Regions from separate parts of the Homo sapiens genome. Here all the other regions are linked to region 3. Evidence: promoter capture Hi-C in 16 types of primary human blood cells and fetal thymus (Javierre and others, 2016). All regions are on one chromosome and are shown on one strand. The core of a region is centred on a gene start or on the middle of the fragment in contact, and the rest is flanking DNA. Distances in the headings are between cores, read along the strand shown. Region 1 has its middle 3.8 kb from the start of ERO1A. Region 2 holds the start of DORIP1 (dopamine receptor interacting protein 1). Region 3 holds the start of RPS29 (ribosomal protein S29).

The links. The method cuts DNA at HindIII sites, captures the fragments that hold promoters and counts their contacts. A CHiCAGO score of 5 or more calls a contact.
Region 1: a contact is called between a fragment that was not itself captured here and the fragment with the promoter of RPS29 in region 3, in 1 of 17 cell types (M2 macrophages). The highest score is 6.2, in M2 macrophages.
Region 2: a contact is called between the fragment with the promoter of DORIP1 here and the fragment with the promoter of RPS29 in region 3, in 2 of 17 cell types (naive CD4 T cells and M0 macrophages). The highest score is 8.4, in naive CD4 T cells.

What each region holds. Positions count from the first base shown.
Region 1 is chr14:52,697,813-52,701,001 of GRCh38, forward strand. No RefSeq gene overlaps it. Among named protein-coding and RNA genes, the nearest start is that of ERO1A, 3.8 kb to the left of the region's middle. The HindIII fragment of the contact is 2,803 bases long and covers 492-3,189 here.
Region 2 is chr14:44,896,006-44,899,326 of GRCh38, forward strand. DORIP1 (dopamine receptor interacting protein 1) reads left to right here and starts at 1,270. Exons shown (of 5, transcript NM_001017923.2): 1 at 1,270-1,563. It overlaps LOC101927418 (a long non-coding RNA gene), which reads right to left. Exons shown (of 3, transcript NR_110050.1): 2 at 3,225-3,308; 3 at 2,903-3,071. RefSeq lists enhancers at 915-964, 1,589-2,088 and silencers at 1,455-1,584, 1,605-1,924. The HindIII fragment of the contact is 3,873 bases long and covers 929-3,321 here.
Region 3 is chr14:49,584,968-49,588,120 of GRCh38, forward strand. It overlaps RPS29 (ribosomal protein S29), which reads right to left and starts at 1,413. Exons shown (of 3, transcript NM_001032.5): 1 at 1,318-1,413; 2 at 983-1,082. The coding sequence starts at 1,379. It also overlaps RN7SL1. RefSeq lists enhancers at 444-493, 1,092-1,591, 1,464-1,973. The HindIII fragment of the contact is 6,928 bases long and covers 1-2,449 here.

The sequences.
Region 1 (3,189 bases), core at 643-3,142, 3.1 Mb after region 3:
CCACTACGCCCAGCTAAGTTGTTTGCATTTTTAGTAGAGACAGGGTTTCACCATGTTAGCCAGGATGGTCTCAACCTCCTGACCTCGTGATTCGCCTGCCTTGGACTCCCAAAGTGCTGAGATTACAGGCGTGAGCCACCGCACCTGGCCAAAAGCTCTTTTTCATATTCCTATATACAGGCCCCAGTTATCCTTTTTAGGGCCAGACCCAGGTCATGTTCTCCCTGTCTTAAGTCGTCTTCCTGGTTTCCTCCTAACCCAGTTCCAGTCTCTCAATGATTTCAATTCAGTAAACTTACTCTGTGACAAGCTGAGCTTGACATTTGGGATACAAAGATGTATAAGGTCCAGTTCCTACACTTGGAGAGACATCCATGGAACTTAGTATGTACTTTTTAAAAAATATTTAATTGACAAATAATAATTGTGTATATTTATAGGATACAATGGGATGTTTTGATCTATGCATACATTGTAGAAAGATTAAATAAAGCTTATTAACAGATACATTGCCTCACCAACTTTTCATTTTTCATTGATGAGAACATTAAAAAATTATTCTTTTAGCAATTTTGCAATTCTTATTAACTGTGGTCACCATGCAGTGCATTAGATCACTAAAACTTATTCCTGCAGTCTAACTGAAACTTTGCACTTTGACCAACATCTCCCCTTTCCCCATCCTCCCTGCCCACCGGCCTCTGGTGACTACCTTTCTACTGTTTCTATGAGATAAACTTTTTTAGATTCCACATGTAAGTGAGATTATGTGGTAATTGTTTTCTTGTGCCTGGCTTATTTCACTTGGTATCATGGCCTCTAGGTTAATCCATATTGTCACAAATTACAGAATTTCCTTTTTTTTTTTTTTTTTGAGACGGAGTCTCGCTCTGTCACCCAGCCTGGAGTGCAGTGGCACGATCTCGCTCACTGCAAGCTCCGCCTCCCGGGTTCACGCCATTCTCCTGCCTCAGCCTCCCAAGTAGCTGGGACTACAGGCGCGCCCGCCACCACTCCCGGCTAATTTTTTTGTATTTTTAGTAGACACGGGATTTCACCATGTTAGCCAGGATGGTCTCGATCTCCTGACCTCGTGATCCGCCCGCCTCGGCCTCCCAAAGTACTGGGAATAATTTCCTTCTTTATGGCTGTATAGTAGGCATATATATACAAGATTCTCTTTATCCATTCATCTGTCGATGAACACTTAGGTTGTTCCTATATCTTGGCTATTGTAAATAATGCAGAAATGAACATGGGAGTATAAGAAACAAATCAATGTTATGAAAATAGTCTGATTTTTAAAAAGCAGCAAAGGTTCTGAACAGTTATTTTTCAAAAAAAGACATACAAATAGCCAACAGGTATAGGAAAAAAATGCTTAATATCTCTAATCATCAGGGAAATGCAAATTAAAGACACAATGAGATGTCACCTTACACCTGTTAGAATGGCTATTGCCAAAATGATGAATGATAACAGGTGCTGGAAAGGATGTGGAAAAATGGAAACACTTGTACACTGTTGGTGGGAATGTAAATTAGTACAGCCATTTTGAAAAATAGTATGGAGGTTCCTCAAAAAACTAAAAATAGGCCGGGCACGGTGGCTCACACCTGTAATCCCAGCACTTTGGGAGGCCGAGGCAGGCAGATCATGAGGCCAGGAGATGGAGACCATCCTGGCTAACACGGTGAAACCCCGTCCCTACTAAAAATACAAAAATTAGCTGGGCGTGGCAGCACGTGCCTGTAGTCCCAGCTACTCTGGAGGCTAAGGCAGGAGAATTGCTTGCACCTGGAAGACAGAGGTTACAGTGAACCGAGATCGCGCCACTGCACTCCAGCCTGGGCAACAGAGCGAGACTCCATCTCACAAAACAAAGCAGACAAAAAAAAAACACACACACAACTAAAAATAGAATTACCATATGATCCAGCAATCCCACTTCTGGGTGTATATACAAAGGTATTAAAATTGGCGTGTCAGACTGGGCATGGTGGCTCACGCCTGACCCAGCACTTTGGGAAGCTGAGGCGGGCAGATCATTTGAGGTCAGGAGTTCAAGACCAGCCGGACCAACATGGTGAAACCCCGTCTACACTAAAAATACAAAAAATTAGCCAGGCATGGTGGTGTGTGCCTGTAGTCTCAGCTACACGGGAGGCTGAGGTGAGAGAATTTCTAGAACCTGGGAGGCGGAGGTTGCAGTGAGCTGAGATCATGCCATTGTACTCCAGCCTGGGTGACAGAGCGAGACTCTGTCTTAAAAATAAAAATAAAATTTGTATGTCAAAGAAATATCTGCACTCCCATGTTCATTTCAGCATTAGTATATAATCTTTTATGATATTTTCTACTTCATATTTCTTCACTGAATTGTAACATCTTTAAACTTCTTGAGCAGGGATTGTGTTTCAAATGTCCCTGAGACTCCCAGAGATCCTTAACAAGGATCTTGTCTTTGTACATGTTCGTGGAATAAATGAAAATCTTTCACTGGCCACAGTACTAATAAATGAAGATTAGGCCATCAAAAATGAGAAACACAATAAGAAAAGAGGAAATTAATAAAGCCTATGATTTTAGAAGGAAGCAATCTGAATATGAATCAGCTTAACATTTTACCCTAATGCAATGACCTGTAACCTGGGGGAGCTTAAAAATGTCAGTGTTCTCATGATAGAAATTATTTTCCATAAAACTCAAACTCTTTCCCAGAATAAATTTCTAGCAAACTTAGAAAAAGTATCCACTTTTTTTACCTTATTGTCTAGATAATTATAATGTTTTGTTTCAGATTTGTAAGCGATTTTAGAATAAGTAAATACAGTTTTATGTGTGTGATGTGAATATCACTGAAGTGTCCATGAGAATCTTTCAGGCCAGAAGGAAACTCCCTTTGCATGAGTTTGCTTCTTCAAATATACCTGCTCAGGCAATCGTCTCACCTGTGTTAGAGGCCATGAAATCACTGATTAGTCATTCATTAACTATTTAAAGAGCACCCACAGGGTACATAGATCAACCTTTGATTTCTGAAAGCCCAACTTCCCATTCATTACAACTTTGCTAAACAACATTAAATTTTTTAGAGATGAACAAGGTCACAAACTTGTTTTTCTAATACTAGTGATTATAACAATAACATGACTTAGATTTAATGCACACAGCATTTCCTGATGGAAT
Region 2 (3,321 bases), core at 20-2,519, 4.7 Mb before region 3:
TCCATGTCTTGTGAGAGATTTATAATTAAACACATAATCCACATTTACAAACATTTTTAAAGGGCTTTTCTACCTGTAGGAGAGGATTAATATTGAGAGTGAACTTTTTGCAAGTTTTCCAACACACTAGTTTATCTCTAAGAGCCTCAGTTTCCTCATCTATAAAATACCATAAGAAATAAGAAAAAACAGGAAACTAAAAAGAGCAGGCTTTGCCAGAGCTATTAATTATTCTTTTTTGGGCAGAGCCAAAACTCAAGAAATGGAAGTCTCTCTTCCATTTCTAGACTTTTTTAGAGAGATCCATGAGGAAGTTCCCCTCCATAGCTTTGGCCGACCATCACACCGGTCAAGAAGGCATCCAGCCTCTCCCAGGCTCAGCCTGTGACGGAAAACCACACTGATTTACTAGGATAGCCTTGAGCTCTCTCATTAGCCCTCACGTGTTCTGAACGTTAGAGCTAACTTTCCAGACCCTCATTATTTGTTGAAAGGCTGGATGGGGAAAATCTCAACCAGATCTCCATGCCTACTTGCAAGGAGAGGTAGTTTTTGCAGGGTGGCCTGTGTTCTCCAGATGCAGAGCCATACAGGGCCTTGCTTCTTTACGGGAGATACAAAAACTCGGCCCTAATAAACAGAAATAGTGGTTGAGCCCACAAACTAGCATTAAGTTGTCCTAACTGTAATTTCCAGCTCCGTCACTTGCTGTGTGGGACCTTATTATCTCCAAAACCCAATTTTTTCAACTTCACAATGGAATTAAAACAATCTAATTTTTCAAAATGGGGTTAACTTCCACTGTAAGTTACAGTATATTGGCCAATAATTAACTTGAACACTAAAGCTGGCATTTAACAGATCAATTCAACTGTTTTCTAAGTAAATACTTAAACGCTTAAAAAACCGTAATTTACTGAGAAAACAAAGCTTTCTTTCTAGGTTAAGAATTTGAGAAAACAAGACCCAGAAGCAAACTAAAATCAAGTCCTAAAATGGTACAAACCTCAAAAAGCCAATCAGGTTTGCCAATAAAGCTCCGCCTCCGTGCAAACTCTGCCCACTTCCGGCTTCCCCACCCACCTTCTACCAGTGGAACCCCGCCCCTCTCTGCGAGGTCCCGCCCCCCACACCTGATCCTGGTTCCCATTGGGCGAATCTGGATGCTGTATACACAGCCGACACACGCACATTAGGCTGGGGCGTCTTCGCGCCTGCGCAGCTGCGCTGTCAGGCGGCTGAAAACGGGGGGGTTGGGGGGAGGGGGGCGGAGGTCGTGCCGAATCTTCCTCCGTAATAAGAAGCGACGTGTCCCACTGTCCTGGCTCCGTGGGTCCAGTGAGATTGGGCCTGGGCGCTGGAGCTGCTGTGGCTCCCGCCGCGGCGGCTGCCATGGAGGCCATGCCAGAGCCCAGAACTCACGCCGGGGGAGGCCGAGACAGCCGGCGGTACTCATAGATGAGGCAGCGGCGGCGGCGGCGGCGGCGGCAGCCCGGGCTCTCCATGAGCAGGCGGCGGCGGCGACGGGTGCGGCGGCACCGGCAGTTTTCGGTCCCCAGGGAGGTACGAGGAGTTTGCTTCCTGGTGGACGGAGACTGGCCGGTGTGGGAACGCCTTCCGCGGCCCGGCCCTCCAGCCTATTTGTCCGCAGTTCTGAGCACTCGGCGGGGCACTGCCCGGGCAGAGGCGGGGGCGCCCAGCCGACTCGCGGGCCCCTAACTCGGGGACCCGCCCGCCTCGGTGCCAGGCCTCCCGGGCGCGGCTGCCCAGGGCCAGGGTGGGCGTGGCCGGAACGTGGGGGCTCCCCGGGGGCGCACGCCTAGCGTCCGCCTTGTCCCTGTCCCGAAGTCCCGCGCTGCTGGGAGCGGTAGCGCGTGGCTGTACAGGCGTATTTTAGGCGCTGATTTGAGAGGGGACTTTTAGAATCCCTGAGTCCTTAGGGAGTCTGGCGTTCAATGCCTTGGGCATGTGGTGGGGTCCTCACGGCTAGCTTGGGGTACCAATTTCCTCCCTTGGAAGTCACCACGAAAGAAAGATGTTTTGTCAAAGAAATAGAGGTCAGGAGAGTTTTCCAGGTTTATTCAAATTGGAGGGCCCGTAGAGCCTGGAGAATAAAGCCAGCGGAATACATCCTCCAGTCCTTCTAATTACAGTTCCTAGCTAAACAGCTAAGACAATTTTAAGTAAAGCTCTTCACAGCTATCTTTCCATCATTTTTCCCCACCCCTCATTTTTATTGCAATTTACTTTGGAACAAATCACCAAATTCATGATGAAACTAGTATCCTCTAGTTCTTCCAAACCTTCCCTCCTCCCGTTTTTTCCAGAGAAAGACTAAAGTTTCATGCCACATATGTCATTATAGTTTAATTCTCTTAGAGTGTAAGGGTAGTTACACTTCATTTGGTCATGTCTGAAGATAATGTGAAGAAAATATCCTAGAGATTTATGCTTCCTTCCCAATGCACTATTTTAGGAATCCGAACTCAGGCTCTTTAAGCAATCTTAAACCTTGCTACAAAGTTCTTTAAAATTCAACGGAAATAAATCAAACCATAAAGTTATTTTCGTTTTTAAAGTATTTGAATGCATAACTGTTTTTTAAAATCTTTGTAAACAAAACGAATCAGTATCTATTACGAAGAAACTGAGTTTGTGTTTTCCTAGGCTGCAGATTTGCCACACCCTCTTCTTCCTAAGTGGATGACTAGAATCAATGTGTTGGCCAACTAGATATAAACATCCACTCTTCATACTAAATATAGTTACTGGATATTTTAGAGTCCACAGTATCTTGCTTCAAACTGAAAACACTGTGTTCATGTGTGTTTAATATATTGCAGAAGTGAATTTTTACTCGCGTTGCAGAATGTTTTGGACTTAGTTTCTTACACAAATAAAACACGTAGGACTGCAGCTTTATTAAGTGTTGAGTTCATGTTGTGTTTGGGAGGATGCAGCACTTGGAAAAGATGGTCAAAATAAGACACTGATCTCAGTCACTCATTTCTCTGTTTCCACTCCTCAGATGCCTCCCTTTTTTCATAACAATACTTCTCCATAAAAGTAACCTCGGAAAACAATATGATGTTGTTAGTTTATTTGCTTGTCCCAAGTAAAGTGAAGGAGTTTTTTCAATACAATTGTAAAAAGAACTCATTCTTTCAAAAGTATGTGCGCTATATAACATACATATAACACAACATATTTATTAAAATACTTACTGTGGCTTTAAAAACAAAGTGCCTAGTGGTCCTCAAGGTTGGGGAAGAGTGCCAGTTTGAAAAGGGAGGATGCTTTGCTTCATTCTGAAAACATGCA
Region 3 (3,153 bases), core at 163-2,662:
GATGATCAAGAGATAGAAGCACTAAATGGCAGACCATTGTTTGCTGAATCTTAACAATGTCTTTCCGGCCCCAAACTTTAAGTTCATTCCAGTGTATGACGCTTTCAAACATTTTGGGTTGGCCGGGCGCGGTGGCTCACGCCTGTAATCTCAGCACTTTGGGAGGCCGAAGCAGGCGGATCACGAGGTCAGCAGTTCGAGACCAGCCTGACCAACATGGTAAAACCCCGTCTCTACTAAAAATAAAAAAATTAGCCGGACATGGTGGCAGGCGCCTGTAATCCCAGCTATTCAGGAGGCTGAGGCAGGAGAATCGCTTGAACCGGGGAGGCGGAGGTTGCACTGAGCGGAGATCACGCCATCGCACTCCAGGTTGGGTGAGTGCGACTCCGACTCAAAAAAAAAAAAAAAAAAACTTGGGGTCAGCGGTTAATACATATATTTGGTTAGAAAATATCTAGGTACAGCCGCGCGTGGTGGCAAGAGCCTTTAGTCCCAGCTACTCGGGACGCCAAGGCAAGAGGATCGCCTGAGACCAGGAGGAGTTCGAGGCTGCAGTGAGCCGTAACAACGCCACTGCACTTCAACCTGGGCGACAGAGGGAGACCCTATCTCTAAAAAAAAAAAAAAGAGAATAGGTACTTACAAGATTGATAAATGAAACAAATGTAAAACAATTTTAGTGGCTTCTCTAAAGTGAATTTCACCAAACACAATACACGGCACCTAAAACTGGCTAAGCTATCTAGGTAAAAAAGGGAGTAGGAAAGACTAAGTCCTTCACCTTCTCCATTCTATTAATTTGATTGCCCAAACCATCAACACTGTCACCAGCTACCAACTAAAAAAAGAGGAAAAGCTCTTGGTCGAATGCTCAGAATTACCACTCCAGGGAAGATCTGTCCGTTTGTCTTTCGCGGAAAAAATAACCCCCACAACCTTCTCTGCCCAAACAACATGGAGTACGCCTGCAGACGCCTACCTTAATGAAACCGATATCCTTCGCGTACTGACGGAAACACTGGCGGCACATATTGAGGCCATATTTCCGGATCAGACCGTGCCGGTTTGAACAGACACGACTGTAAGAAAAGAGACAGCGGTTTTGCAGGTCATAGAAATTACAAGACTCCGCACTCAGACGGCTACTACCCGCATCCCGGGACTCCCAAGCCACAGTACAGGCCTGTAATGGCGGCACCAGCGACTCCCAGTCGGCGTGCTCCCTCGTGCCGCCCGTGGCCTCCTCTACTTGAGATTTTAAGCAGCCTAGCGCTCCACGGCAACGCTTCCCCAAAATCACAAACTATTTCTCACCAAGAGCGAGAACCCTGGCCGAATTTTCGCGGGTGGCTCCAGTACAGCTGCTGGTGACCCATCTTGCTCTCAGCAGTGCAACGAGGTAAAAGGAAGAAGCTGGCCCACGCATGCGCTCTTCAAATTTTTGAGACAGTTTACCCAGAATGCAGTGCTCAAAGGAAACGCGTGCGCAGTGTGGTCAGGTTGTTTCGCTGGGTGAGTAAAATGAAATCTTAGAGGCGTTGTGGGCTGGCCCAGTTGATGACGTCACCATACCACAGCTTCTAGTGCTATTCTGCGCCGGTATCCGACCGCCGGGCGCGGTGGCGCGTGCCTGTAGTCCCAGCTACTCGGGAGGCTGAGGCTGGAGGATCGCTTGAGTCCAGGAGTTCTGGGCTGTAGTGCGCTATGCCGATCGGGTGTCCGCACTAAGTTCGGCATCAATATGGTGACCTCCCGGGAGCGGGGGACCACCAGGTTGCCTAAGGAGGGGTGAACCGGCCCAGGTCGGAAACGGAGCAGGTCAAAACTCCCGTGCTGATCAGTAGTGGGATCGCGCCTGTGAATAGCCACTGCACTCCAGCCTGGGCAACATAGCGAGACCCCGTCTCTTTTGAACAATAAATACGTTAATTTTGGACTCTCAAGAGATGAATATTCTCATAGTCTTTTTTATTGATTAAACCTTTTACTTTCTTTTAATTAAAACGTTACACTTGGGAAAGGAGTTTTTCCTCGACTCACCAGTGACACCTACTGGAATAAATTTACAAAACAACTTAAAATCAGCTGTAATGATCACGAGTCAACGGTAGGGTTTGCTTTTATTTTGTTAAAGAGAGTACGTTTTCAAATTTATTTTTTTGACACACTCCTCCAAGAAATACACCTACACCATTCCAAAAAAAAATGAGATTCTTTGGCATTTAGTGTATTTGATTCTTAAATGTAATTGGCTGAATGTAAAGTAATAAACAAGTAATGTGCAGTGTATGTTGCTTTGACCAGATAATTTGGTGACAAAACAAGTAATGAAAAGCAAATGCAAAAATGCAAAAAACCAATGTCAATAAACGAATTTCTGCTGAAAGATACCTACATTCCATATGGTCATTTATAATGCCTCCAGATAAAACTGCTCTGAAATCAAAGCTTTAACTAGATTTATAAAATGTAGCACAGGGTGCAACAATTCCAGAAACTTTTACATATAAACTTTTATAAATTGAAATACAACACTTCTTTAAGGTATGTTATGTCAGGGTTCTAGTGGGGTCCCCCTACCCAATCATTAAGTTAGGCATTGTATTATATGATTAAGGAAGGAGGGGAGTCAGAGATTTGTAAACTAGATATAACTTGCTCCTTGCCCTCAAAATTTTCTAATCTGTGGGAAACAGGATTATCTCCAAGACTTCAACATACAACGTTTGTGCACCAACAACATATGTACAGCTAAGGAAAATATTCTGTATTAAATCATGGGTGTGCTCATGAAGTACGAAAGGAGCCAAGAAGAGAAATTAATTCCAGTTCGAGGTACATTTGAGAGACCTTTGAGGTAGACCTTGAAGAATGGGATTTCTACAGGCAGCACTTGACAGAAGGGAATGCCTGGTGAAAGGAAGCGCTTGAGCCAAGGTAAGGTGAACAACTTTGTGTAACTAGAATAGAAGATGGACAAAAGGCCTAGTGATAGGAATGAAAAGGTATTTTATTTTAAAGCCTCATTGGGCAAGATCCAATGTCAAGCTTTTACAACTTTCCTATAATTTATATCAGTCACTAATGTGTGGTTTCCAAAAGCCATTTGCCTCTCAAAAGCTAATCTAACATTTGTCCACACTTTCTTAG